Linked DNA regions of Homo sapiens: regions 1 and 2 are each linked to region 3. The links are contacts of gene promoters, found by promoter capture Hi-C in human tissues and cell types (Jung and others, 2019). All regions are on one chromosome and are shown on one strand. Each heading gives the region's core, a stretch centred on a gene start or on the middle of the fragment in contact. The rest is flanking DNA. Distances are from core to core; before and after follow the strand shown. Region 1 has its middle 33 kb from the start of FURIN. Region 2 overlaps PLIN1 (perilipin 1). Region 3 holds the start of NGRN (neugrin, neurite outgrowth associated).

What was found. Contacts are between HindIII fragments. The study calls those that stand out against the background at their distance.
Region 1: a contact is called between a fragment that was not itself captured here and the fragment with the promoter of NGRN in region 3, in 1 of the 25 tissues and cell types used here (lymphoblastoid cells).
Region 2: a contact is called between a fragment that was not itself captured here and the fragment with the promoter of NGRN in region 3, in 1 of the 25 tissues and cell types used here (thymus).

What each region holds. Positions count from the first base shown.
Region 1 is chr15:90,833,283-90,837,437 of GRCh38, reverse strand. No RefSeq gene overlaps it. Among named protein-coding and RNA genes, the nearest start is that of FURIN, 33 kb to the left of the region's middle. The HindIII fragment of the contact is 6,342 bases long and covers 1-4,155 here.
Region 2 is chr15:89,667,499-89,671,510 of GRCh38, reverse strand. PLIN1 (perilipin 1) reads left to right here. Exons shown (of 9, transcript NM_002666.5): 4 at 1-29; 5 at 1,267-1,531; 6 at 1,839-2,011; 7 at 3,718-3,909. Among named protein-coding and RNA genes, the nearest start is that of PLIN1, 9.9 kb to the left of the region's middle. The HindIII fragment of the contact is 6,131 bases long and covers 1-4,012 here.
Region 3 is chr15:90,263,574-90,268,004 of GRCh38, reverse strand. NGRN (neugrin, neurite outgrowth associated) reads right to left here and starts at 2,333. Exons shown (of 3, transcript NM_001033088.3): 1 at 2,129-2,333; 2 at 1,607-1,717. The coding sequence starts at 2,292. It overlaps TTLL13 (tubulin tyrosine ligase like 13), which reads right to left. Exons shown (of 15, transcript NM_001396017.1): 14 at 3,947-4,058; 15 at 2,528-3,285. The coding sequence ends at 3,038. It also overlaps a transcript of CIB1 not described here. RefSeq lists enhancers at 1,379-2,349, 2,143-2,372, 2,733-2,862, 2,350-3,321. The HindIII fragment of the contact is 14,519 bases long and covers 1-4,431 here.

The sequences.
Region 1 (4,155 bases), core at 156-2,655, 570 kb before region 3:
TTCTTGATTCCTATCAAGCAGCTCATGATGCCCCTATCTTTCCGATGAGGAAAGAGAGTCATCCAGGGCAAAGGACTTGGCCAAGGTCACCCAGTAGGCAGGGCCCGTGTGCCTTCCTGCCTCCCGGGTGCAAGGCCCCAAGGCTTCGCCGGCTCTGAGCCTCTGAGTCACTGGAACAAGGCAGAGCCAGGTGGTCTGGACTGTCACGGAAGCCTTCCAGAAAAGGAGGCCTCGAAGCCTAGGGGCGAGGAGGAGATTCTGGTGGAGGTAAAAGCACCTGCAAAAGCCAAGCAGTGGTCGGCTGGGTGTGGTGGCTCACGCCTGTAACTCAGCATTCTGTGAGGCCGAGGCGGCAGATCACTTGAGGTCAGGAGTTCGAGACCAGCATGGCCAACATGGTGAAGCCCCGTCTGTACTAAAATACAAAAATTAGCCAGGCATGGTGGCACACACCTATAGTCCCAGTTACTCGGAAGGCTGAGGCAGGAGAATCACTTGAACTTGGGAGGCAGAGGTTGCAGTGAGCAGAGATCGTGCCACTGCACTCCAGCCTAGGTGACAGGGTGAGACTCTGTCTCAAAAAAAAAAAAAAAATAGGCAGTGGGCAGGCCTGTGTGGCCAGAGTGAGGGCACAGTGGACGGGGCAGGAGTCAGGGCCCTGCTTAAGAGATAGGTGGGTGATGAGGGGGAGGAAGTGGATGGGGCTTACGGGGCTCACCAATGCCAACGAGGCAGGGGCTTAGGATCAGGACTGGGACAAGCATCTCTGGCAAGAGCGCCTCATGAGATAGCCTGGATGGTTGTTCCTTCCAAGAGAGCCTAAAAACCCAGGGGAACCAGCTTCCCTTTTCAGCTCTTCCCAGGGTCAGCTGCTCCGCAGGGAATCTTATCTTTAGCTGGGACCTCCAGAGACTCTGGGTCCCCACGCTGTCTTCCTGAAAACCCTGTTTACACAAGAGTGTCAATGACTCATCCAGCTTCAAATGTAGTGCTTCCCAACTCCAGCTGTTCAGAAGAATCATCCTCCGTGGATGTGTTTTATGTGTGTGTGAAGGTAAATTGTTTTCTTTTTTCTTTTTTTTTTTTTTTTTTGAGATGGAATCTTGTTCCATCACCCAGGCTGGAGTGCCATGGCATGATGTCGGCTCACTGCAACCTCCTACACCTCCTGGGTTCAAGTGATTCTCCTGCCTCAGCTTCCCAAGTAGTTGGGATTACAGGCGCCCACCACCACGCCTGGTTAATTTTTGTATTTTTAGTAGAGACAGGGTTTCCTCACGTTGGTCAGGCTGGTCTCAAACTCCTGACTTCAGGTGATCCACCTGCCTAGGCCTCCCAAAGTGCTGGGATTACAGGCAGGAGCCACCGCGCCCGGCCTTTGTTTTTATAAAAATGATATATGGCCTGGCACGGTGGCGCATGCTGTCTCTACTAAAAATGCAAAAATCAGCCAGGCATGGTGGCGCGTGCCTATAATCTCAGCTACTTGGGAGGCTGAGGCAGGAGAATTGCTTGAACCCAGGAGGCGGAGGTTACAGTGAGCCAAGATCACACCACTGCACTCCAGCCTGGGCGACAGAGTAAGAGTCCATCTCAGGAAAAGAAAAAAAAAGATGTATGCTGGCTGGGTGCAGTGGCTCACGCCTGTAATCCTAGCACTTTGGGAGACCGAGGCAGGTGGATCACTTGAGGTCAGGAGTTTGAAACCAGCCTGGCCAACATGATGAAACCCTGTCTCTACTAAAAATACACACACAAAAAAATTGTCTAGGCGTGGTGGCGTGCACCTGTAATCCCAGCTACTCAGGCACCTGAGGCAGGAGAATTGCTTGAACCTGGGAGGTGGAGGTTGCAGTGAGCCGAGATCATGCCACCACACTCCAGCCTGGGCGACAGAGAGAGACTCTGTCTCAAAAAAAAAAAAAAAAAAAGATATATGCTAACTCTCAAACAAAACAAGCAATTCAGAAAAGTACAAAGAAGGAAGTAACAAACTCCTCCCATTAGAATGATATCTTCAGGCCGGGTGCATTGGCTTGCACCTGTAATCCCAGCACTTTGGGAGGCTGAGGAGGGTGGATCATAAGGTCAGGAGTTCAAGCCCAGCCTGGCCAAGATGGTGAAACCCCGTCTCTACTAAAAATACAAAAATTAGCTGGGCGTGGTGGCGGGTGCCTGTAATCCCAGCTACTCGGGAGGCTGAGGCAGAGAATTGCTTGAACCCAGGAGGTGGAGGTTGCAATGAGCCGAGATCGTGCCACTGCACTCCAGCCTGGGCGACAGAGTGAGACTCCGTCTCAAAAAAAAAAAAAGAAAGAAAGAAAGAAAAAGAATGATATCTTCATGAAGGCAGGGGTTTCATCGGCTCTGTTCTCTGCTGCACCTAAAACTTCTGGTGCTCAGTACATGCTTACTATAGCCCGTTATTCGTGTTAACCTTGGGGAATGCCACCTACACAGAGAAGTTTGGAGAGATGAAGAGGGATAGGAAGGTTGGGGCTCAGAAAGTGATACCCCAGACTGGGGCTCTGACATGCTGAGGACTGCAAAGCTGCCTAACCTTGTCTTGTACCCTCCCTACCCCCGAGTGGAGGGAGGGACTCTTCCTGGAATTCCTTATCTGACTAAGAAAGTTTCTTTCCAAAAGAATTGCAAAACCAGGTACAGCAGCATGCACCTATAATCCCAGCTATTTAGGAGGTTGAGACTGGAGGATCACTTGAGCCCAGGAGTTTGAGACCAGACCAGGCAACATAGGGAGACTCCGATCTCAAAAAACAACAACAATAAAAGAATTGTGGTTGTCTCGGCCGGGCGCAGTGGCTCATGCCTGTAATCCCAGCACTTTGGGAGGCCGAGGCGAGTGGATCACCTGAGGTAAAGAGTGTTTGAGACAAGCCTGGCCAACATGGTGAAACCCCATCTCTACTGAAAATACAAAAAATTAGCCGAGAATGGTGGCACGTGCCTGTAGTTCCAGCTACTCGGGAGGCTGAGGCAAGAGAATTGCTTGAACCTGGGAGGCGGAGGTTGCAGTGAGCCGAGATCGCACCATTGCACTCCAGCCTGGGCAACAAGAGTGAAACTCTGTCTCAGAACGAACAAACAAACAAACAAATCCAACTTTTGTTCCTTTGCAGTTCCGCCCTCACCTTCCCATAACTTGTCCCACTCAGCTCCCAGTCATTTGCTAACCACTGTCTGAGCACTGAGCCTATTCATTTCTCCATTTTTCCTCTCCTCAACCTTCTGGCCCCTCTTTGAGTTCATATTTTGCATGTCTCATGTGCATGTAATAAGCCTGTTCTTTTTTCTCTTGTTAACTTGATTTTTGTAATAGAGGTGCCGGTCATGACCCTTTACATGGGGAGAAAAGGGATCACCCTCCTTCTGCCCCTGCAGTTCAGAGAAAGGTAAGTCCAAACAATTTTAGATTAGATTGCACCGTACCAGTTCTATTTTAAACTAAATATATTCTATTTTACTTGAGTTTAACAGAAAAAAAAAAAAAGGCAGATCAGGTGCTATGGTTCACACCTGTAATCCCAGCACTTTGGGAGAACAAGGTGAGAGGATCCCAGGAGCTTGAGACCAGCCTGGGCAACATAGTGAGACCCCTGTCTCTACAAAAAAATTTTTAAAAACTAGCTGGGTGTCAGCTGCGTGTGGTGGTTCACACCTGTAATCCCGGCACTTTGGGAGGCCGAGCCAGGCAGATCACGAGGTCGGGAGTTCGAGACCAGCCTGGCCAATATGGTGAAACCCCGTCTCCACTAAAAATACAAAAAATTAGCTGGGCATGGTGGTGCGCACCTGTAGTCCCAGCTACTCAGGAGGCTGAAGCAGAAGAATCGCTTGAACCCGGGAGGCGGAGGTTGCGGTGAGCCGAGATTGTGCCACTGGACTCCAGCCTGGGTGACAGAGCCAGACTCCATCTCGAAACAAACAAACAAACAAACAAACAAACAGACAAACTAGCTGGGTGTGGGAACATGTGCCGCCTGTAATCCTAGCTACTCAGGAGGCTGAGGCGGAAGGATCACTTAAGCCCAGAAGTTCAGAGCTGCAGTGAGCCATGATTGTGCCACTGCACTCCAATCTGGGCAACAGAGTGAGACCCTGTATCTGAAAAAAAAAAAAAAAAAAGGCAAAAAA
Region 2 (4,012 bases), core at 861-3,360, 600 kb after region 3:
TCCCCGCCCTCCAGTACCCCCCTGAAAAGGTGAGCCCTTCCCACCTCTCGAAGCCTCCCTGCACTCTGTCGTCACCGCCTCTCAGGGAGGAGAGGGCAGGGGCTGCTGATGCCGTGACTGGAAGTCTGTGTCCCATGGTGAGCACCCTCCAAGGCTGGCGGAGAGTGCCTGCTCCCAAGGCCACACAACAGGCTCCTCTTCTCCCTGTGAAGCTAAACGGAGGTGGGGTTTCTGGGACCAGCAGGCACGAGCCCAGAGGCAAACCCAAACAGGAGCTTGAGGCGGGTCCCACTGCCTCCCGATACCGCACCCTGGGATCTGAGGTTCCATAGTCTGCCCTGGACCACTTGGCAACTACAGCTGCCTAAGATCATGAGTCACACTCATTCAGATCCCAGGAGTGTCATCCCATATCCTCAAGATCCAACCTTTTATGGACCATGAGATTGAAGGTCACTTTACCTGGCTACATATTTATTGGGTAGTTGCTATGATAAGGACTCATTTTTGGTGCTTCTGGGGAATAAGCTTCAGTCTCTGACCTCATCTATCTCACTGACCAACTATCTACCCTTCCCACAAACAGGTACTGAGCCCTACCCTATGCCCGGGGCCATCACCTATGCTTTATCAAGCGCTCTTCTTTAATCCACTTGTCAACCCTCTGGGATAGGGGTTGTTATCTCCATTTTACAGAGAGGAAACCAGTGTCTCCCCCACGGCCACACAGCCTTAAGTGGGGACAATGAGAGCAGGTCTATTCAGCTGTGAGACCTGTGCTCTTTGCTCCCCATTTTTCCAGATAAAAGGCAACATTTTTGTCACAAAAGAGCTCCCAGAATAATGAAGAAAAAGACAAATTATTTCAGTGCAGAACTTGTAGGAAGATCAAGCACACCTATAAATCAACAGAAATGCTGTGTTCTGAGGAAAGGATGGAGGAGATTCCTTGTGAGCCCAAGGGTATCAGGACAGGTGGCACCAAGGACGAGCCTTTGGGGTCATCCTCACAGGATGGGAGGGATCTTGACAGGCTGTGATGCGGGGTGAAGAAGCCAGGAGATCCAAACAGTTGGCACAGGGAAGGTTGGAGCCCTCTCCTCTAAAGCCCAGCTTAATTCCAGGTACCTAAATATCAGTACCAGTTCCCTGGGCCTTTAGGTGATGCCTTCCTGGGAGCTGGGCTCAGGCCACCAGACCCCGGAAGGGCAGCCCTTGTAGGGCCTGCAAGACCACATGCCTAACACCCCCACCAACTTCCCCCAGATTGCTTCTGAGCTGAAGGACACCATCTCCACCCGCCTCCGCAGTGCCAGAAACAGCATCAGCGTTCCCATCGCGAGCACTTCAGACAAGGTCCTGGGGGCCGCTTTGGCCGGGTGCGAGCTTGCCTGGGGGGTGGCCAGAGACACTGCGGAATTTGCTGCCAACACTCGAGCTGGCCGACTGGCTTCTGGAGGGGCCGACTTGGCCTTGGGCAGCATTGAGAAGGTGGTGGAGTACCTCCTCCCTCCAGACAAGGAAGAGTCAGGTACCTGCCATTCGGAGGCTCGGCCTGGGAGTGAGTTGTCACACACACTGCCTGGGAATCAGCAGGAGGTGGCTCAACCAGCCACTGCTCTGGAATAGGGAAGGCCAGTGGGATTTTCAGATGGATTCATAATCATTTACCCCCCCCACCCCCACCCCATCTGTAAAGAGGGAAAGTGAGTTGTGGAACTCACCAGTGAGTTTGTGGTGGACCTAGAACACCTACTTTCCAGTCCTAGACATGACCCAGATCTCTCCGGCCCCTCTCTGACCTGTTTTCTCTTCTTTCCCCCCAAATCCCTACCCAGCCCCTGCTCCTGGACACCAGCAAGCCCAGAAGTCTCCCAAGGCCAAGCCAAGCCTCTTGAGCAGGGTTGGGGCTCTGACCAACACCCTCTCTCGATACACCGTGCAGACCATGGCCCGGGCCCTGGAGCAGGGCCACACCGTGGCCATGTGGATCCCAGGCGTGGTGCCCCTGGTAAGTATCTGCCGTGAGCTCTGACTGACCCGGTGCCTGGGAGCCCTGTGGGCCTCCTAGTCCCTCCCATCCCCCACCCATCACCCCTTCCTGTCCTGAGAACATTCTCTCTTCCAACGTGGGCTGGGGCTTCAGTTCTAAGAGGACTTGAGAGGGGTAGAGGGATGGCCTTCCAGACCACAGGGAAAGAGAAGGGAGAGGATGTTAAGCAAGGGCAGGCCTGCCTTGCTAGAGTGCTCCTTCCCCACCACTCACTTCTATCTCCCCCATTTCCCTCTGAGTCTCCCACAAGCCCCAGCCTTCATACCCCCAAGTGGACCTCTTTCTATGGGTCTTCCCACCTATAAGACAGCAGGACCTCCATCTGCTATGCAAGCACTAGGGACTGTCATCCTTAAATAAACAAAGTATACAACCCATTTTGTCAGGGAGAGTGTACCCAGCACCAATGCACCCAAGGTGAAGTTGCCCTTTCTAGGCCCAGGGAGAGTTAACTCCCCACCACTCCCCACCACTCCCCACCTCCACCTCTCTGTATCTTAGCAGAAATAGGCTGGATGTTTTTCATAAGGAATTTTAGTAAGAAACTAAGGCCAGAAAAGAAAATAAAACAATACTAAAGCATAAAGGCCAGCAAACAAGATGACTACTTTTCAGCCATCTTTTGAGCAGTACTTTTAAAAGCATCATCAGGCGTGGATCATTCATTCAAGCAAGTGTTGCCCCTGCAGGAATACAGGAGTAGTAGCTCCCCTCTGTCCCCTGCATCAATAACAGCTGAGACTGAGTCACATGCCTGGACCCCGCCTGCAGTGGGCAGAACCTCACGTGCCACCATTCGCATGGAATAGAGTGGCATCCCCAAAAGCTGTGTAATAAGGAGTCTCTGTTTGTGGGGCTCCCTAGAGGTTTAGAATGTGCCTCAGGAGATACCAGCCCCCTTGCTCAGTCAATTTCTTCCCATGGGACACTCTGGTTCATTGAATTTTTCACTCTTAAAAGATCTGGGAGGAGTATCTACCAAAGCTAACATACATATATCCTATGGCCCAGCAGTTCCACTCTTAAGTGTATACCCAACAGAAATGAGCACTTAAGTCTCCCAAGACAAGTGAAAAATGCTCAGATCAGCAATATCCTTAGCTAAGAACTGGAAGCGATGATAATGTCCATCAACGGTAGAATGGGTAAATTACAGGAAATTCGTATGATGGAATATTACACAGAAATGAAAAAGAAGGAACTACTTCCATTTGCAGCAACATGGGTGAAACTTACACCATCATATTTAACTAAAGGAGCTATTAATAGATGAATACACATGGTGTGACTCCACTTACATGAAGTTCGAAAATAGGCAAAACTAAGGCATGGTGACAGAGAGCAGGACTGTGGTCACTCTTGGGGGAATGTGGACTGAGTGGGGACACAGGGAGTCTTTGGGTGTTGAAAATGGTCTATGTCTTGATCTGTGGTGGTTACACAGGTGTGTTCTTATAAAAATTCATAGAGCTTACACTAAAGATGTGTGCACTTTAGTGTATGTAGATTACCAACTCAATAAAAAGTTTCCAGAAAAGTCTGCTGGGGCTGAGCCCTGCTCACCACCTGGCCCGGACCCTGGGGGCGAGGGGCTTGGGCTGCTGGGGCTCCCTGGCCTTCAGCAGGGGCAGTTGAGCCAGCTATCTGCTGCCATCCTCCCTCAGAGCAGCCTGGCCCAGTGGGGTGCCTCAGTGGCCATGCAGGCGGTGTCCCGGCGGAGGAGCGAAGTGCGGGTACCCTGGCTGCACAGCCTCGCAGCCGCCCAGGAGGAGGATCATGAGGACCAGACAGACACGGAGGGAGAGGACACGGAGGAGGAGGAAGAATTGGAGACTGAGGAGAACAAGTTCAGTGAGGTGAGGGGGAGAGTGGGAGCCTCAAGGTCCCCCAGCCCACAGAAGGGGTGAGAAGCAGAGGCATAGGGTGAACTCAGGGCCTCTGCCCCAGATGCAGGGGCAC
Region 3 (4,431 bases), core at 1,084-3,583:
AAACGAAAAAAAGAGGAGCTAGACCTGACTGAGGACTCAGAAGGTGCTACAGGCTCACAAAATCTTGAGCAGCTCTACAGAATCCCCTTTATTTTAAATTTCAATTCCAGAGTCATTCTGATGGAAATGAAAAATAGTACATAATCTATGTAGGGCTACTTAGCAATATTTATCAAATTGCAAATGCATTTGTCTTTTGACCTGGCAACCTTACTTCTGGGAATGTATATAACAAATATTCCTGGCAGGTATGCAGAATGATACACATACGTAGTTATTCACTGGGGCACTATTAGTGAGCAACAGAAATGGAAACAACCCAACTAAATGCCCACAATAAAAGACAGGTTAAATAATGCATTCTGGCCAGGCATGGTGGCTTACGCCTCTAATCCCAGCACTTTGGGAGGCCGAGATGGGAAGATCAGTTGAGGCCAGAAGTTTGAGACCAGCCTGGTCATCATAGTGAGACCCCCATCTCTGTCAAATAAATAAATAGGAGAAAAAATTGTTTAAATAAAAATTAAAAACCACTGTCATATACTGCCTCATATACTGCCTCAAAAAAATATAATAACACCATCTATAAAAAAAGAATTGAGGGCCAGGCGCAGTGGCTCACTCAGGGCACAGAGCCTAGTTTTTGGTAGAGAAAAACTATTAAAAATAGTACAGCTGCACACAGTGGCTCATGCCTGTAATCCCAACACTTTAGGAGGCTGAGGTGGGATGATCGCTTGAGCCCTGGGAATTGGAGACTAGCATGGGCAACATGATGAGGCTATCTCTACAAAAAATAAACAAAATTAACCAAGCATGGTGGCATGCACCTGTAGTCCCAGCTACTTGGGAGGACGAAGTGGGAGGATGGCTTGGGCCCAGGAGGTAGAGGCTGCAGTGACCGGTGATCACATCATTGTACTCCAGCCTTGGCGACAGAGTGAGACCCCCAACTACCAAAAAAAAAAAAAAAAAGTACCCACAGGAGAGTGGGTGGGACAAATAATTCTCAATGTGTATACCATGTTATACTGTTAGGTTGAGCCATATGTAATACTTTACCTACTCAAAACAAAAAAACTTAAAAACTCTTTTAAGCTTTCCTAAATTATAGATCCTGTCTTCAGAAAAATGCACCTACCTATGGAAGCACCAGCATCCCTGTACCTTAGGTTGGGAACGTCACAACCTACATTCAAGGGTTAAATGTTGTGATGTCTGCGATTTACTATTTAAAAATTTCAGTAAAAATGAACCAACCACGTCATAACGTTAAAAACTATTAAAACCAGGCGGGGCGCAGTGGCTCATGCCTGTAATCCCAGCACTCTGAGAGGCCGAGGCGGGAGAATCACTTGAGGTCTGGAGTTCGAGGCGATAGCGAAACCCCGTCTCTTTAAAAAACAAAACAAAACACTATTAAATCTAGATAATGACAGGGTTAGGGAAGTTCGTTATATTACTCTACTTTTCTGATAATAAATTTCAACGACAAAAAGTAAACGAAAATATAAAAGCAGTATCAAAAAAGCCAAACCCGTTTCTGGGCTCCAGCATCCTTCACTTCTCATCACAGCGGATACAAACAAGGTATCCTGAGTCTCACCGTATCTGCTCCATGGCTTCCCACGTCAGGGTCCTGGGCGGGGCACCAGGCGCCTCCATTTGCCTCCGAATTTTCTGGAATCGGATTGCTTGTTTCTGTCGTTTCAGGGTGCTGGGGGAAGAGAACCAATGGCAGAAGCCATGCGTGGAAGCAGAATGGATGTTTGAAGAGCCTCAGGCTAAATCATGGAGCGCCCAGCCCTCTTCTCTTTGATCGCAAGGGCAACCGGGCCATGTTGCCGGCTTAGAGCTGCTCCGTACACCCAGAAAGCTAACACCTAGAACAATAACTGCCTGTAAGCATGCCGAACTCTCTAAACTGATGATGAAATACGTCACTAATGAAGGGACCAGTGGTCCCAGGGGAGCTGAACACCTGACGCTGCGCCCCTAACAACGGGTAAGAAGAAACAAGGGCCGCTGCGCAAGCAGCGGCAGGACACCCGGCGCCAAGGGGGCGCGGCCTGGAGCGCCGGGGCACGAGGCCCTGCTTCAAGCTGAGGGCCCGGGGAGAAGCCGGTACCTCTCCACCTCCTGCAGCTCCCGTTCCTCCGGCTCCCAGTCGGAATCGGGGTCCGGCTCCCGGCCAATAGGGCCTGGGCCCGCCACCCCCCGGGTCGCGAACCCACAGCGAGTGACGGCGGCGCAAACGCGCCCGCCCAGCAAGAGACTCAGGGTAACCGCCATGTCGACGCAAACCAGCCTTCAGCAGTCGGCTACGAAACAGCAGCGGAAGTAGCCGGGTAAGACCGGAAGTGGAAGGGGCGGGCCGGAGGCTGGGTAGTAGCAAGTTATTTCCCGCTTCACTTGGTGGGGGTAAGATCTGGGCTCACGCTGCTCAGTGGCCCACCCTTTCTGCCTGTAACTGTGGAGAGGGCTTCCCTGAAACGTGAGGGCCGAAATGAGGTACAGGACGCTCCTGGAAAACTGCATAAACTTTAATTAAAGTACGGATTCCGTTTCCAAGAGCCGTCCCTCCGCCCCAGCGGCTGCCCAGGCCTGCCTGTCTCCGCCACCTCGGTGGGCAGGGCTTCCGCTCGGCAGTCTTCTGACGGCGACAGCCCAGTGCCTTGGGCACTCGGCTTCTCTGGGAAAGGGGCTCATTGTCTCCTGGATGGCCTCCAGCCCCGGGCCGCACCTAGGGTTCAGACCCATCACCTAGCGATAAACCCAGGCTAAGGCTTGATGAGCAGAAATGAGTACATGGCTGGCCTTGGCGCCTCTTCATCTTCTAGTCTTTACCGATCCCCAATTAATCTTAGGGTATTGAGGAATTCTTGGTGTCTTTGTATTTTGCCTTATACAAATGGGGTTCCTGGGCAGGGCTTTTCAAAGTGGAACTTGGTGGCAGTCATTCATTTAGCAAAGATTTAATGCCCTTTGGAAACCTGGGGAGGTTATCCAGGAGAGGTAGAGTGCTTCCCTCCTGCTTTTACCTGAACTGATTGATGTTGAGGAGTGCTCTGGAACGCTGCAGCATGGGTGCAGACGCAGGGCAGAGGGGAACCTTGGCTGCTCTGTGTTCAGAGTTTACCATGGAGGGCAAGGTGCATTCAGTCCATGAGTCAGATGCCACTCTTTCCGGTTGCAGAAAATAGCCCTGCTTTGGGGTTAAAGTGGGTGGCACTGATCCTGCCAGGACTCGGTTTATGGCTTCTAGCCTTCTGCTGGCTTGTCCTTCTGCAGTGGAAACATGGATGTCCCTGAGTTGGTATTCACAGAAGAGATTTGTTCACCTCTTTCCCAACTGTGGCCCAATTACCAACACAGAGGAAGGGCATCTCATGCTTCCCTCCACTGTCTTTCCCACACTGTATTGTAATTGGTATGGTATGTCTTTTTGTCCATGTTCCTATTACCTCTTGAGTGCTGGGACTGTATTTCTGCCATTTCTATCACCAGGGTCTAGTGTACAGAAAGGATTAAATAGGCCTGGTGCGGTGGCTTACACCTGTAATCCTAGCACTTTGGGAGACTGATTCAGGTGGATCAGGAGTTCAAGACCAGCCTGGGCTACGTGGCAAAAACAAAATATACAAAAGTTAGCCGAGCATGGTGGTGTGTGCCTATAGTCCCAGCTACTCAGGAGGCTGAGTCAGGAGAATTACTTGAGCCCGTGAGTGGAGTTTGCAGTGAAGTGAGATCAAGCCATTGTACTTCAGCCTTGGCGACAGAGCGTGACCTTGTCTCAAAAAAAAAGGAGTAAATAAATGGGTACCCTAACTTCCCCATTCTTACACTGGTGGAAGTGCCATATTATATTTTAGGGGCATCCAAGCTCTATGCTTGCTAGTGGGATTTACATATGTCAAAATGACCAAAGCTAGTTTTGCATACTTACGGCTAGTGAGCCTGATTCTGGCACTGGAAAAATAGCACCTCCCAGCCTTCTTCATTGACAATGAACAGGAGTTGATGGCTGCCGGCTCTCCTGTCCAGTTGAAGTTCTTGGGCTGCAGATGGTACCGGGGAACATGTGGGATTGCAGCATTCATGCTTGGCAGTGCCCCTAAGATCCTGGGGATTGATTCATGGGGCAGAACTGGATGCAGGAAATGAGGAGCGCCCTGCTCTGTGGCAGCCCCTCTTAGGAGCACCAGTAGGACCAGACTCATAGATTTCAGTTCTTGACTGCCCAGCCTGTCCTAGCAAAATCTAGGCTAGAGGAGAAGAGCAGCCCCTTACCACATTTTTATGTAAGTTTGGATGGAGCGTTGGAAGAAGGAGGTAACTGAAAAAAATCTCTTCTAGGCCGCGGCCACTATTTAACCAGATACTCCTTTGGGGTTCAACAAAAACAGAAGACCCAACAGGTTTGCTACCAGC